Regions from separate parts of the Homo sapiens genome. Here region 2 is linked to region 1. The links are contacts of gene promoters, found by promoter capture Hi-C in blood cells and fetal thymus (Javierre and others, 2016). All regions are on one chromosome and are shown on one strand. Each heading gives the region's core, a stretch centred on a gene start or on the middle of the fragment in contact. The rest is flanking DNA. Distances are from core to core; before and after follow the strand shown. Region 1 holds the start of TGFB1 (transforming growth factor beta 1). Region 2 has its middle 10 kb from the start of CEACAM21.

What was found. The method cuts DNA at HindIII sites, captures the fragments that hold promoters and counts their contacts. A CHiCAGO score of 5 or more calls a contact.
Region 2: a contact is called between a fragment that was not itself captured here and the fragment with the promoter of TGFB1 in region 1, in 1 of 17 cell types (naive B cells). The highest score is 5.7, in naive B cells.

What each region holds. Positions count from the first base shown.
Region 1 is chr19:41,352,672-41,360,405 of GRCh38, reverse strand. TGFB1 (transforming growth factor beta 1) reads left to right here and starts at 6,484. Exons shown (of 7, transcript NM_000660.7): 1 at 6,484-7,716. The coding sequence starts at 7,362. B9D2 (B9 domain containing 2) reads left to right here. Exons shown (of 4, transcript NM_030578.4): 3 at 2,384-2,509; 4 at 5,393-5,989. The coding sequence ends at 5,706. RefSeq lists enhancers at 5,607-6,108, 6,032-6,181 and silencers at 6,182-6,711, 6,862-6,931, 7,232-7,311, 7,472-7,734. The HindIII fragment of the contact is 9,879 bases long and covers 4,553-7,734 here.
Region 2 is chr19:41,562,163-41,569,896 of GRCh38, reverse strand. It overlaps a transcript of CEACAM21 not described here and the pseudogene LOC110467527. Among named protein-coding and RNA genes, the nearest start is that of CEACAM21, 10 kb to the left of the region's middle. RefSeq lists a silencer at 1-65 and an enhancer at 6,184-6,478. The HindIII fragment of the contact is 2,339 bases long and covers 1,625-3,963 here.

The DNA of each region.
Region 1 (7,734 bases), core at 5,235-7,734:
CAGGAGTTTGAGACCAGCCTGGGCAACATAGTGAGACCCCCGTCTCTACAAATAAATAAAAAATTAGCAAAGCATAGTGCTGTGTGCCTGTCGTCCCAACTACTTGGGAGGTTGAGGTGGGAGGATTGCTTGATCCTGGGAGGTCAAGGTTGTAGTGAGCTGTGATTGTGCCACTGCACTCCAGCCTGGGTGACAGAGGGAGATCTTGTCTCCCCCCACCCCCCCAAAAAAAGAAAGGAGCACCGTGATTCCAGACAGTGGTAAGTGCTAGGATGAAAAGAAATGATGTGGCAGGGACTAGTGTTTGGTGAAGAGGGTCAGGGAGAACCCCTCTGTGGAAGTGGCACTTGAGCTGGGCCCTGAAGGATGAAAACAAAAGCTAGGGATGGGGACACCCAGGAGCAGAGCTTTCTAGGCAGAGGGAACAGCCAGTGCAAAGGCCCTGAGGTGGGGAGTCAGAAGTGGGACAGTGAGGCCAGAGGGTGATGAGGGAGGGGGAGAGTGATGGGAGATGAACTCAGGGAGGGGAGCAAGAGCCAGGCCACGTGGGCCATGGTGGAGGGTCTGTAAACTGGGGGGTGAGGAGGGGATTAAGAGTCCTAGAGGGTGGATTAAATGAATGGATGCTTAAAGTACTTAGCATAGCATCTGGGATTTAGTTAGTACTCGGTGCATTTTCTTTTTTTCTTTTCTTTTTTTTTTTAGATGGAATTTCGCTCTTGTTGCCCAGGCTGGAGTGCAATGGGACCATCTTGGCTCACTGCAACCTCCGCCTCCTGGGTTCAAGTGATTCTCCTGCCTCAGCCTCCTGAGTAGCTGGGACTATGGGCGTGCGCCACCACACCCAGCTAATTTTTGTATTTTTTTAGTAGAGATAGGGTTTCAGAATGTTGGCCAGGATGGTCTCGATCTCTTGACCTTGTGATCTGCCTGCCTTAGTCTCCCAAAGTGCTGGGATTACAGACGTGGCTAATTTTGTGGGTGTGTGTGTGTGTGTTTTTAGTAGAGACAGAGTTTTACCATTTTGGCCAGGCTGGTCTCGAACCCCTGACCTCAAGTGATCCACCTGCCTTGGCTTCCCAAAGTGCTAGGATTACAGATGTGAGCCACTGCGCCCATCCTAATTTTTGTATTTTTAGTAGAGATGGGATTTCGCCATGTTGGCCGGGCTGGTCTCAAACTCCTGACCTCAGGTGATCAGCCCGCCTCAGCCTCCCAAAGTGCTGAGATTACAGGCGTGAGTCACTGCGCCTGGCTTGTTTGTTCATTTTTTGAGATGGAGTCTCACTGTGTCACACCAGCTGGAGTGCAGTGGTGCAATCTCGGCTCACTGCAGCTTTTCCAGCGATTCTCGTGCCTCAGCCTCCCGAGTACCTGGGATTACAGGCACCTGCCACCACTCCAGACTAATTTTTGTATTTTTAGTAGAGACGAGGTTTTGCCATGTTGGCCAGGCTGGTCTTGAACTCCTGACCTTAGATGATCCACCCCCCCCTAAGCCTCCTAAAGTGCTGGGATTAGAGGTGTGAGCCACTGCGCTCAGCCTTAATTTTTATATTATTTGTAGAGATGGGGTTTTGCCATGTTGGTCAGGCTGGTCTTGAACTCCTGGACTCAAGGGATCTACCTGCCTTGGCCTCCCAAAGTGCTGAGATTACAGGTGTGAGCCACTGTATCCTACCACTCAGTGCATTTTAGCTATCATTATCACCCCTCAGTAGGATCGAAATTGTTATGTGTGTTTCAGGATGCGCTCCTGGAGGGTACCCTTGGCCCCATCTTAATCCTTGGACTAGGCTTGAAAATATGGGGTGAGAATCGTAATAAAATGATATTGAAGACTTATCCCGTGCTCACTATGCTCATTACCCATTCATGGATTAATGGGTTAATGGATTAGTGGGTTATCATGGGAGAGGAAGTGGTGGCTTTATAAAATGAGAGAGAGAGACGTGAGTGGCATGTTAGCACACTAGCCTTGGGACTCTCTGAAGAGTTCCAGCAAGAAGGCTCTTACTAGATGGGGCTCCTCCACCTTGGTCAGTCTCCTATAACTGTGAGATAGAAATTCCTTTTCTTTATAAATTATCCAGTTTTGGATATTATGTTAAGAGTAACAGAAAACAAATGAAGACAATGAGGAATGCATTATTACTCAGCTCATTTTATAGATGGGGAGACCAAGGCAGAGAAAGCTAACTTGCCCAAGGTTGCAGAGGCAGGAAGAGGTAGTGCCAGGATTTGAACCCAGATACTTGGTTCCAGAGTCCATGCTTCGTAACCCCTACCAGTAGATGCCACAGAGAAACAGTCCTATAGCCACAGCGGCATCCCCTTCCCGATGGCTGCCTCCCACCCCTCTATGTCCCGGCTCTCACTGCAGGGGCGGCATGGAAGCTCCTGTCAGGCGTGCGGGAGGGCCAAACGCAAGTGGACACCCCGCAGATAGGGGACATGGCTTACTGGTCCCACCCCATCGACCTGCACTTCGCCACCAAAGGTCTTCAAGGTGGGTATCACACCTGGACCCGGGTCCAGGCTGAGGGGAGGGGGCCAGTAGCCTCTGAGGTCCCTGGGGCTGGGAACACCAAGACCTGTCCCTGCTCCCCATACCACGTAGGTCCCTTTTGCAGCCAAGTCTGGCCCTGGAGAGGCTGAGCTAAGGCCTTCCCAGGCCTGCTCAATAGGCGATCCCAAGTTTGTATGATTAGGGCAGAGGCCAGGGTGGAGCAGGAGGTGGGAAGGTGGGGGGTCAGGGTGGGAGGGGAGGTGGCATTCAAGTAAAGAGACAAAACGAGAGTCTCCAATAAAGAGGAAGCCGGGAGGCAGGGTCTGAGAGAGGCAAGGGCTGTTTCTCCAGGAAGGGCTCCTCGGCTTGAAAGTAGAGCTGCTGCTCAAAGGGGAAATCAGTACTGGGGGAGGAGCGGCATCAGAAAGCCTTTCTAGTAGAAAATGTGGGTTCCTGGAGATGAGTTGATTCTGAGAAATTGCCTAGGTAAATGTGCCATATATTTCACCAATATAAAGAACGTCTACCTGGTACCTGCCCTGTGTCCAGCCTGTGTTGGGTGATGCCAGGGAGACATTGAGGATCAAGGCAGTGTCCCTTAGCCTTGTCCTCACAGGGTTCACCGTCCTATGGGGGGACACACCTCTCTCCAGACAGTGGCACCTCAGAGTGGGCAGGACTAAGATAGGTGATTTGGAGAGGCTGTGGGAGCCCAGAGGAAGTGGCTGACTCTGTCAGGGAGGTCAGAGAGGGCTTCCTGGAGGAGGGGGCTTCTGAACTTTGCTGTGAAGGGCCAGCGGAGCTAATAAGGCAGAGGGATAGAAGAAGGTTCTAGGCAGAGGGAGCTACGTGGAAGACTCAAAGGGGAAAGTGAGCCAAGGGCATCTAGTGGATTGAGGGAGAGCGGGACGGCAGAGGGGAAAGGCAGAAGGGGACAGGCCATGCAGGGCCTTGAGTGCCAGGCTGAGGAGCTGAGGCCATCTCCTGAAGGCACTTGGGAGCCAGAGCAGGTAATGGACAAGTGAGATTTCACCTTTTTTTTTTTGGAGACAGAGTTTCACTCTGTTGCCCAGGCTGGAGTGTAGTGGCAAGATCTCAGCTCACTGCAACCTCTGCCTCCCAGGTTCAAGCAATTCTCCTGCCTCAGCCTCACGAGTAGCTGGGACTACAGCCACGTGCCACCACATCTGGCTAATTTTTGCCTTTTTTTTTTTTAATAGAGATGGCGTTTCACCAAGGTGGTCAGGCTGGTCTCGAACTCCTGACCTCAGGTGATCCACCTGCCTCGGCCTCCCAAAGTGCTGGGATTACAGGCATGAGCCACCGCGCCTGGCTGAGATTTCACTTTTAAATAATCTTTCTGTCTTTTAAGCTGGAGCTGGGGAAAAAAAAAATCTTTCCGGTGCTGTGTGGGTGAGGTGGGCAGCTCTAACCTTTCAGCTCTTGGGGCCTCCAGTCCCCCAGTGGTGGCACCAGCCTTGCTTTCTCTTTTCTCAAGCCCCCATTTTGTCCATCAGGAAATCTTAAACTGCCTCTACTTTTGAAATACATCCTAAATCCCACTTCTTACCCTTTTCTCGCCCAGCACCTTGATCTGTCCAAGTTCTTCTCTCACATGGACTATGACAAGAATCTTGTCTCTGGAGTCCCCTTCCCCAACCCCCCTGGTCTGCACCCCACATGCAGCTGGGACCCTGTGAACACCTAAGTCAGGTCCCATCTCTGCTCTGCTCAGAACCCTCCAATGGTCCCCATCTCACTCAGGGTGAAAGCCATAGTCTTAGCATGCATCACAAGGCTCTCCACAACCAGGCTGGCACCTCCTTCCCGTCTCCCCACCTCATTCTGCTCTAGCCATGCTGTCCCCACCAGGCACACTCCGTCTGGGCTCCAGCCATACTGTCCCCACCAGACAGTCCCCCCCCAGGGCCTTGGCACTTGCTGTTCCCTCTGGCTAGGAGCACTCTTCCTCTAGATGGCCACATGGCCTACTCCCTTCCTTCCTTTTAGCATTTGCTCAAATGTCACCTTCTTAATGAAGCTTCCTTGATCCCCTTCTTGCTAAAGCGGTATCCCCACCCTCACCCTACCCAGCTCTGTTTTCCCTCACAGCAATTACCACCATCTGATCTACCCTATAATTTGCTTATTTACTACATTCGTTGTCTAGGATATCAGCTTCACGGGGGCAGGAATTTTTGTCTGCCATCCATGTTCATGTCTGCCGTGTCCCCAGCTAGCTAGAACAGAGTCTAGCACAGGAGAAGGGATCAGCATGAGATGAGATGGGGCTGGATCTCCAAGGGCTTTGACTACCAGACTGAGGAGCTGAACTGTGTTCTGAGGACATGGGCAAAGCTATGGAAGGAGAGAAAGATGCTTCCAGATGCCAGGTGGAAGGTGGATTAGAGAGGGGCAAGAAAGAAGGCCCTGGGCCCAAAGAGAGCAGGGCAGGGACATGAGGGAAGGCAGGAGGTGTCCCTGACAAGGCCCATGATGGTTACCTGGGGACTGGAGGAGCAATGGGCTGCCCTGACATGGGGTCATGGAGGAGGATAACACAGAGAGGAAATTCAGCAGAGGTCTGATTAGAAGGGCCTTGAATGTTGAAGAGGTTGGACTTTATACTGAGGGCACTGGGGAGCTATGGAAGGATCCTTAGCAGGGGAGTAACATGGATTTGGAAAGATCACTTTGGCTGCTGTGTGGGGATAGATAAGACGGTGGGAGCCTAGAAAGGAGGCTGGGTTGGAAACTCTGGGACAGAAACCCAGAGAGGAAAAGACTGGGCCTGGGGTCTCCAGTGAGTATCAGGGAGTGGGGAATCAGCAGGAGTCTGGTCCCCACCCATCCCTCCTTTCCCCTCTCTCTCCTTTCCTGCAGGCTGGCCCCGGCTCCATTTCCAGGTGTGGTCCCAGGACAGCTTTGGCCGCTGCCAGCTTGCAGGCTATGGATTTTGCCATGTGCCCAGTAGCCCGGGCACCCACCAGCTGGCCTGCCCCACGTGGCGGCCCCTGGGCAGTTGGCGAGAACAGTTGGCACGGGCTTTCGTGGGTGGTGGGCCGCAGCTGCTGCATGGGGACACCATCTACAGTGGGGCCGACCGCTATCGCCTGCACACAGCTGCTGGTGGCACCGTGCACCTGGAGATCGGCCTGCTGCTCCGCAACTTCGACCGCTACGGCGTGGAGTGCTGAGGGACTCTGCCTCCAACGTCACCACCATCCACACCCCGGACACCCAGTGATGGGGGAGGATGGCACAGTGGTCAAGAGCACAGACTCTAGAGACTGTCAGAGCTGACCCCAGCTAAGGCATGGCACCGCTTCTGTCCTTTCTAGGACCTCGGGGTCCCTCTGGGCCCAGTTTCCCTATCTGTAAATTGGGGACAGTAAATGTATGGGGTCGCAGGGTGTTGAGTGACAGGAGGCTGCTTAGCCACATGGGAGGTGCTCAGTAAAGGAGAGCAATTCTTACAGGTGTCTGCCTCCTGACCCTTCCATCCTTCAGGTGTCCTGTTGCCCCCTCCTCCCACTGACACCCTCCGGAGGCCCCCATGTTGACAGACCCTCTTCTCCTACCTTGTTTCCCAGCCTGACTCTCCTTCCGTTCTGGGTCCCCCTCCTCTGGTCGGCTCCCCTGTGTCTCATCCCCCGGATTAAGCCTTCTCCGCCTGGTCCTCTTTCTCTGGTGACCCACACCGCCCGCAAAGCCACAGCGCATCTGGATCACCCGCTTTGGTGGCGCTTGGCCGCCAGGAGGCAGCACCCTGTTTGCGGGGCGGAGCCGGGGTGCCCGCCCCCTTTCCCCCAGGGCTGAAGGGACCCCCCTCGGAGCCCGCCCACGCGAGATGAGGACGGTGGCCCAGCCCCCCCATGCCCTCCCCCTGGGGGCCGCCCCCGCTCCCGCCCCGTGCGCTTCCTGGGTGGGGCCGGGGGCGGCTTCAAAACCCCCTGCCGACCCAGCCGGTCCCCGCCGCCGCCGCCCTTCGCGCCCTGGGCCATCTCCCTCCCACCTCCCTCCGCGGAGCAGCCAGACAGCGAGGGCCCCGGCCGGGGGCAGGGGGGACGCCCCGTCCGGGGCACCCCCCCGGCTCTGAGCCGCCCGCGGGGCCGGCCTCGGCCCGGAGCGGAGGAAGGAGTCGCCGAGGAGCAGCCTGAGGCCCCAGAGTCTGAGACGAGCCGCCGCCGCCCCCGCCACTGCGGGGAGGAGGGGGAGGAGGAGCGGGAGGAGGGACGAGCTGGTCGGGAGAAGAGGAAAAAAACTTTTGAGACTTTTCCGTTGCCGCTGGGAGCCGGAGGCGCGGGGACCTCTTGGCGCGACGCTGCCCCGCGAGGAGGCAGGACTTGGGGACCCCAGACCGCCTCCCTTTGCCGCCGGGGACGCTTGCTCCCTCCCTGCCCCCTACACGGCGTCCCTCAGGCGCCCCCATTCCGGACCAGCCCTCGGGAGTCGCCGACCCGGCCTCCCGCAAAGACTTTTCCCCAGACCTCGGGCGCACCCCCTGCACGCCGCCTTCATCCCCGGCCTGTCTCCTGAGCCCCCGCGCATCCTAGACCCTTTCTCCTCCAGGAGACGGATCTCTCTCCGACCTGCCACAGATCCCCTATTCAAGACCACCCACCTTCTGGTACCAGATCGCGCCCATCTAGGTTATTTCCGTGGGATACTGAGACACCCCCGGTCCAAGCCTCCCCTCCACCACTGCGCCCTTCTCCCTGAGGACCTCAGCTTTCCCTCGAGGCCCTCCTACCTTTTGCCGGGAGACCCCCAGCCCCTGCAGGGGCGGGGCCTCCCCACCACACCAGCCCTGTTCGCGCTCTCGGCAGTGCCGGGGGGCGCCGCCTCCCCCATGCCGCCCTCCGGGCTGCGGCTGCTGCCGCTGCTGCTACCGCTGCTGTGGCTACTGGTGCTGACGCCTGGCCGGCCGGCCGCGGGACTATCCACCTGCAAGACTATCGACATGGAGCTGGTGAAGCGGAAGCGCATCGAGGCCATCCGCGGCCAGATCCTGTCCAAGCTGCGGCTCGCCAGCCCCCCGAGCCAGGGGGAGGTGCCGCCCGGCCCGCTGCCCGAGGCCGTGCTCGCCCTGTACAACAGCACCCGCGACCGGGTGGCCGGGGAGAGTGCAGAACCGGAGCCCGAGCCTGAGGCCGACTACTACGCCAAGGAGGTCACCCGCGTGCTAATGGTGGAAACCCACAACGGTGAGCTCGGAGGGGCAG
Region 2 (7,734 bases), core at 1,545-4,044, 210 kb before region 1:
CGCCAGGAATGACTGAACTTTCTGATTTAGAGGGTGAGAGCTTGCACTGATGGAATTTGGGATTTAATAGGAAAAGCATAGCGTTTTCCTATTTTGTAGGCGGGGTGGCTGGAGTTTGGAATCATAGATTCCCCTGGGATGTCACTGTGGACCTCAGTCCCACCCGTTAGGGGCACAGATTTCAGAATCCACACCCTGGGGCAAAGCAGGCATGGGAGGCTCCATCAGCCTGGCCAGGGCTCTCTATTTGTGCAGCTGCTGCAAGGAGATGTGCACTCTGATGGGAACAGTGCTCCCTCCTCCTTGGGGGGCAGTATCTAGCTCCCTGCAGCCCCTCTCCCTGCAGGCCCTGCCCTCTCTGAACCTCACCTTCCCCAACCCGCCCCCCGCAATCCCATCTCAGCTGTAATCCCAACACTTTCTCATCCATTATGGGTGGACTGCTTGAGCCCAGGGGTTCAAGACTATGCTGGCTGGACAATATAGCGAGTTGTTGTCTCTACAAAAAGACAAAAATTAGCTGTGCATGGTGGCATACACCTGTAGTCCCAGTCACTCAGGAGGCTGAGGTGGGAGGATTGCTTGAGCTGGGGAGGCTGAGTTGGCAGTGAGTTGAGATTGTGCCACTGTATACTTCAGTGTAGGTAACAGAGCGAGACCCTGTCTCAAAAAATAAAAGTAAAAAAAAAAAAAGAAATATGGAATACATTATTGTTAACTCTAATCAACCATGCTATGCAATAGTCCACCAGTAATACCAGTAATAGCCAATAATGAATTATCTGAAAAAGAATACAATTTATTCTTAGCTATCTACTGCTAAAATTTTTAAGCTATCTTTTATGATAGCTGAAACAAAAGAAGTAAATTTAACCAAGGAAGTAAAAGACCTTTATAATGAAAACTGTAAAACATTGATGAAATAAATTGAAAAAGACACACGCACAAATAGAAGATATTCCATGTTCATGAATTGGAAGAACTGATATTGCTAAAATGTCCTTACCACCCAAAGTGGTCTACAGATTCAATGCAATTTCTGTCAAAACACCAATGATATTCTTCGAAGAAGTAGAAGATCCTAAAATTAGAAACCACAAAAATTCCTAAAACCTGCACAAAACACCCTGAGTTGCCAAAGCAATCTTAAACAAATAGAACAAAGCTAGTGGCATTACACTTCCTGACAATCAAAGCATACTGCAAAGCTATAGTAACCAAATCAGCATGGTCCTGGCATAAAAACAAGCACATAGATCAATGAAACAGAATAAAAATCCCAGAAATAAACCCATGCATCTCTAGCTAACTGATTTTCAGCCAAGGAGCCACATGCACACAATGGGGAAAGGACAGCCTCTTCAATAAGTGGTGCTGGGGAATTGGATATTCATATGCAGAAGAATGAACCTAGACCCTATCCCTCACCATGCACAAAAAATTAACTCAAAATGTATTAAATAAAGACTTAAATGTAAGAACTGAAACTATGAAACTACTAGAAGAAAATATAGGGGGAAAATCCATGACATTGGTCTAGGCAAAGAGTTTTTGGATAAAATCTCAACAGCATAAGCAACAAAACCAAATATAAACAAACGGGATTTCATCAAACTAAAAAGCTTTTATACAGCAAAGAAAAAAAAGGCCAGCAGAGCAAAGAGACAACCTACAAATGGGAGGAGAATATATTTGTAAATATATACATATATATTTGTAAATATATACATCTGATAAGAAGATAATATCCAAAATATATAAGAAAATTATGTTTCTGTATAGTTTTATCTGACTGGGATACAGAGGCCACATCCACAGTCCCATCCTCAAAGGCCACTTGTTCCCAAAATGTCAAGCACATCCCTCAATGATCCATCATCAACACCTATGTCTGTAGGATGAAGGGTGAATCATGAAGCACTAAAAAGGAAGAAGGAAGCCAATCCCAAAACAAAATGATGCAGGGTCTGGAAAGTCCAAAGCATTTTTTTTTTTTTTTTTACTGCATCTTCCTCCTTTCTTCTCCACATTCCCAATCCTCACTATTGATTAACAAAACAAAAAAAACTGGGACCCACCATCTTCCCTACTGTCAGGAGATCTAGCGAGATTGTTTGAGTCTTAGACCAAACTTTGCCATAAGCCAAATTTCTGGCTGACTTTACAATGATATGAGCTAGCACAGTCTCTTTTTCTGCCAGTCAACTTGTGCTCGGTTTTATTTGCAACCAAATAGAGGTGGTAACCAAATATAGGTGACCCTAAAATTAGTCATCAGGATGAAATCCTAAAATGTGCAACAAACTGGGTTGAATTCAGGATTAGTAGCAACATCTCTGTTGTGGGCTTGAAAAGGGGGCACCCTTTTATGCAGTAGCAAAATTGCTAAATTGTTGTTTGCTGAGTCTTTGGACTCTCATCCCGGATTTTCTATGACCATTCAAACAGGGCTGCAATGAACATCTATGGTTGTTTAGCTTGGCACACTTCTACATTTCTATATAGTAATATCTAGAAGTGCATTTGCTCAATCACAAGATATGCACATTTTATAATTGACTGCTATCGAACTACCTTAAATAGCCTTAATTTGTTCTCAACATTGTTTAACAGGGTCTGTTTAATGTCCTATGTCCAGCAAGGACAGTATCACTTTTCTTAATATTTTTCAAATTATTGGACCTTAACAAATACTTAATGTGCAATTAATTGATTCCTTTGTATTCCCATGCCTTCTTTTATATGTTTCCTTATAGTACACAAAACCACATTATTGTTTCTTTACTTGTGTCATTCCACCCTGGACCATTCCTATCTAAACCATAACATTATGAGAGAGAGAGAGAGAGAAAACAATATGAAAATATAAATTGATTAATCAAAAAAATTTAAATAGGACAAATCAGGAAGACACAAGAGAGATTTTAAAATTATTCAGAGAATACCACAATAGCTGTACCAATATATTTTAAAACTTAGATGAAACGGACAACTATCTCGATAAATGTAAATTACCAAAACTGACTCATGAAAAAATGGATATTATGAATAGAGCAATAATCAGTAAAGCAATTAAAAAGACAGTTGATAATTTTTATTTACTGACAACAATAACAAAATTTCAGGTCCTGATATTTTTATGGTGAATTTTAACAAATTTTCAAGCTCCTCCTCAACCAATTCTCAGAAGGTTTAAAACTTTAACAAGAAAACACTTTCTAACACATTTTCAGAAGCTGTTATAGCATGATACCAAAACCACACAAGAAAATTATAGACCAATCTCACTTACAAATATACATGCAAAATCAAACAAAATCTTAGTGAACCAAATTCAGAATTAATAATAGCAAACAAGCAAAATATGTTATCATACGTATGGCTTATATCAGGAATGCAAGTATGTTTCAACATCAGAAAATACTTCTCCACATTAACAGACTAAAGGAGAAAAACGCTTGTTTAATTATCTCAATAGGTTTTTAGAGAATTTTGAAAATTTTATAAAGTTATGCGTATTCTGTAAAATTGATGAAATCCAACCTTGATTTATTTTTAAAAATTGCCTTTCCTATAGAATTATAGGTAAAGGAAACACATGCATCCTCACAGAGCTACTTCAAGGCTAAGTTACTTCCCATAAGTAACGTATTCTGTAATGTGTGCTTGGCACATATTCAATACTAAACAAATATTTGCAAATCCTCAAACCACTTCTCGCTCAAATAACCCACCTTTGTCTTTTGCCTTTATGTTAGGGTTGATTTTCTCAATTGTATCTTGGAGATCCTTTGGTGGGTCTTTCAGCAATTACCCTGAATTTGCTTTTCTGTTTACAATTTTAATTCCTGGGAACTCTTTCTTGTTCTCTGACTGCACCCTTTTCATGAGAGTTCAGCCATCAATCCTCCAGAACCCCACCCCCCCCGCCCCCCCAAAAAGCAATAAAGATGTCTAAAAGCTTCTTTCTGGGCTTTCGAATGATGTTTACCCCAGGCATTTGTTCTATTCGTTCATCACCCATTTTCCCTACAACTTGCCTACACTTGATATCAGATTTTTATTTATTAGTCACCTATCTTCTTCATTGGCCCATTTTCCTATTTTGCCACTGGTTGTTCTCAAATGTGTTATGATTCCTGGTTGTACAGTCAAGTGGTTGATAATCTTGGATATACGATAAAGATTTGCTCTGTAGCTGTGTGTAAGCCTATATAAAAGCTTTTGTATTTTTCTTCTTAAAAAAGACAAAAGATGGTTGGGAAGATCCCTCCAGTTCACCAGTTCGAGGCTGCAGTGAGCTATGATAGCGCCGCTGCTCTAGCCTGTCTGTGAAAAACAAGGGGGGCGGGGGGCGGGGGGGAAGACTGGAGATGTAAATCTCCCGCAGGGCCCTACCCGTATCCGCAACAGGTCTCTAACAGGAACAGCCTCAGGCCTGTGTTGGAACAAGGTAGGTTACAGAAATCTGGAAGCCAGATCTGTAACTTCAGGGTAAGGACTGGCTCTCAGGGCTGATCCCCCGGGCTGGGTGTCCCAGAGGCACCCGCCCCCGCCCCTTCCCCAAGGCAGGCCAGGACACCTTCACTCCTCTCCTTAGGCTCCCCACCCCCTTCTCCTCCCCACTGTGCCTCCTGGAGTAGCGGTGGCGGTGCCACAGGGGAGCGGGGCGGGGCGGGCTCTGAGGGCAAGGGGGATGGGCCCCGCCGGGGTCACTGGCGGCCACCCTGGAAACTCGACGCAGGCCGGCCCTTCTAGTGAATCGTCCCAGCCACAGCTGGCCTCCCAGCCGCGCTTGGGGCGCCTCGGGGCGCGAATGGTGCAGGTTGGGGAGACTCACCACGCACCGTCGGGGGTCGGTCCGGTTATTCCTCACCGCTCGGCTCCAGTGGGCGCGCGGGCCTCTCCTCCTCAGTTCCTGCGCTGCAGTCCCTCCCTCACCCTTCGCAGCTTGGGAATCCGACTGTGTCATTCCGACGGAGCGCCGTGAGGACCTCCGAGGGTGTTAGCGCCAAGTGATCTCTGTCCAGCGCTCTGAATATCCAAGTAAAGGAGTTCAATGAAGGGCGGGTCAACGGAGGAGAAACCGTGACTCTCTCAAGGGAGCCCAAGGCCTCCTTGTCTAATTAGTGACGCGCCAATGGATGGAGGCTCTTCCCACCATCTCTTCCCAGCATCCAGTGACACCACCGCCAAGGGACGGGCTCGGCGGAACCTGCAGGAAAGAAGCATCGGCTGAGCCTGACTGCAGCGCTGTGAAGAGACAGGGGAGGGGATCAGTAGTTGGTCCCGCGCCCACCCCCTGTTTCCGCGAGGGGCGGAGTTGACTGGCCATGCAGGCAGAGGGCGAAATGTGAAATTCCACTACTCCTACCGTTTTTCCCTGACCCGATGGGGCGGAGTGTCGTCAGGCTAAGTTCCCTGGCGGTAAGGTGGGGAGATTGAGGCGCACACCTGCCGAACGGTAACGCAGGATTAGCTAAGGCGAGCTCAGGACAGAAGCCTCCCGAGGAGCAGGAGGGCAAAATAATAAATAAATAAATAAATAAATAAATAAATAAATAATAAATAACTCACTCCTTGGTCTTTATTTGCGGCAGGAATTCAGAAGGTGAAAGCGGGGCCTTAGGATCTTTCTGACCTTTTGGGTTTTAAGCAGGAGGTGTCAGAAATGTTACCACAGGGCTAGCTGGCTTGTGGCCAGCAAGCGTTCACAATGCCCTCGATTTTTCATCCCTGTCTGTGGGTTCTTTTTTTCATTGTAAGGCAGAATTTCTACGATTGCTCACCCACTCAGAGAACCTGAGCTGGTTTAGACCAGGTGAGACAGGCTAGGTTTACCCTGGTGATGATGTGTTGTTGCCATGGCGATCCTGCCCAGTACCAGAGGCCCTGCAGATTCAGATACTTGGTGCCTGTGCTTGGCTGAGGGGCCAATGGGTGAAGCTGCCATCTGCGGGATGATGACTGAAGCCTCTAAGTCAGAATCCGCCCAGGCTGAGCCTTAGGGCAGCTCCATGGAGCCTCGGCTGGCCTGGGATAGAGAGTCCACCACTGTGCCAGCCCCCAGCCACTGCCTAGGTCCTGTGCTGAGAGCCCCTTGTCCAGGGAAATGGCGTCCAGTGGAAAAGGGACCACCCCCTTGCCCTTCACTCAAGGCAGGTTGGTGACAACCCTGAAGCTAATCCGTTCCTAGAGGAGCTGCTTCTGGGTCCGAGTTTTCTCTGCAGCAGAGCAGCTCCCTGGATGGGATCTGTTCAAAGTCCGCCTTTCACGCGGAATTTTCCGTCCTTGCAATTTTCCACCTCCACCACTAGGGGATCCTCTCTGACCGCCTCATGCCGGCTCTGGCCTCTGAGCAGGGGTCTCTCTTCTGCATGTGCGACCTTGCGCATGCCTAGTGGCCTTTTGGGACCTAGAGCTGCTCCACACCCCGATGGGGTTACAGAGTGCCTCGCCTCCACTCCACCCCACCAGGGTTCCTTCCCTGGCTGGGATGGGATTTCAGAAGCGCCGAGGAACAGCCCAGACAGGTGTGGGAGAGTAGCCAAGGCCCCTGTCCCGGGGTGGCCAGGACAGCGGTGGCCTCGCATAGGACCTGGCTGGGCTGCTGCAATCAGTGTCCTGCCCCTTGGAGAGCAACAGTGAAAACAACAAGACTATCTTCACCCACCTTAAGAAAGAACAGAACCAGTATCCCCAACTCTGCTGTGTATCCCAACCCAATTCCATTCCCCACCCCACTCTCAGTAGCCAATATGCAAAATATTAGAATACTCTTACTGTTATTATTTTCAACCACACTCTGCATCCTGAAAAACCATATATTTCGTTATGTGCTTTTAAACTTCTTGAAAATGAAATACTGAGGCTGGGCGCAGTGGCTGACACCTGTAATCCCAGCACTTCGGGAGGCGGAGGCAGGCGGATCACGAGGTCAGGAGATCGAGACCATCCTGGCTAACACAGTGAAACCCCATCTCTACTAAAAATACAAAAAATTAGCCGGGCGTGGTGGCGGGCGCCTGTAGTCCCAGCTACTTGGGAGGCTGAGGCAGGAGAACGGCGTGAACCCGGGAGGTGGAGCTTGCACTGCGCCGAGATCGCGCCACTGCACTCCAGCCTGGGCGACAGCGCCAGACTCTGTCTCCAAAAAAAAAAAGAAAAAAGAAATACTGAATTTTCAAATACTTGCTTTTTTTTTCGGTCAAAATTATGTTCTCAAATTTCACTCCTGTAGATGTGCGTGGCTGGCTGTAGTTTTTGCATTTTTATTATTAGGTATTCTCCTGTTGCATTAATATGCCACATTTTATTTCTCTCATGTTTTTGGTGACCACTTGGGGTGTTTTTTGGTTTTGTATTTTTGCTGTATACATGCTGCCATGGTGGACATACCTCTTTATACATATTTCCTGTTGTATGCAGACACAATTTTAGGATGTGACATCTTCAGCTTTTCTATTGTGTCGTGTGTCTTTTCCTTCGTGCTTTGTGTTATTTACATATTCTGGACACAGATTCTTTGTCAACTGTATGTGCTGCACATCTCTTTCCCAGTTTGTGTCTTCTTCTTCTTTTTTTTTTCTTAAAAAAAACTTTCTTTATAGTGTTTTTTCTTTCTTTCTTTCTTTGTTTTGTTTTGTTTTTTTGAGATGGAGTCTTGCTCTGTCACCTAGGCTGAAGTGCACTGGCCGATCTCGGCTCACTGCAACCTCCGTCTCCTGGGTTCAA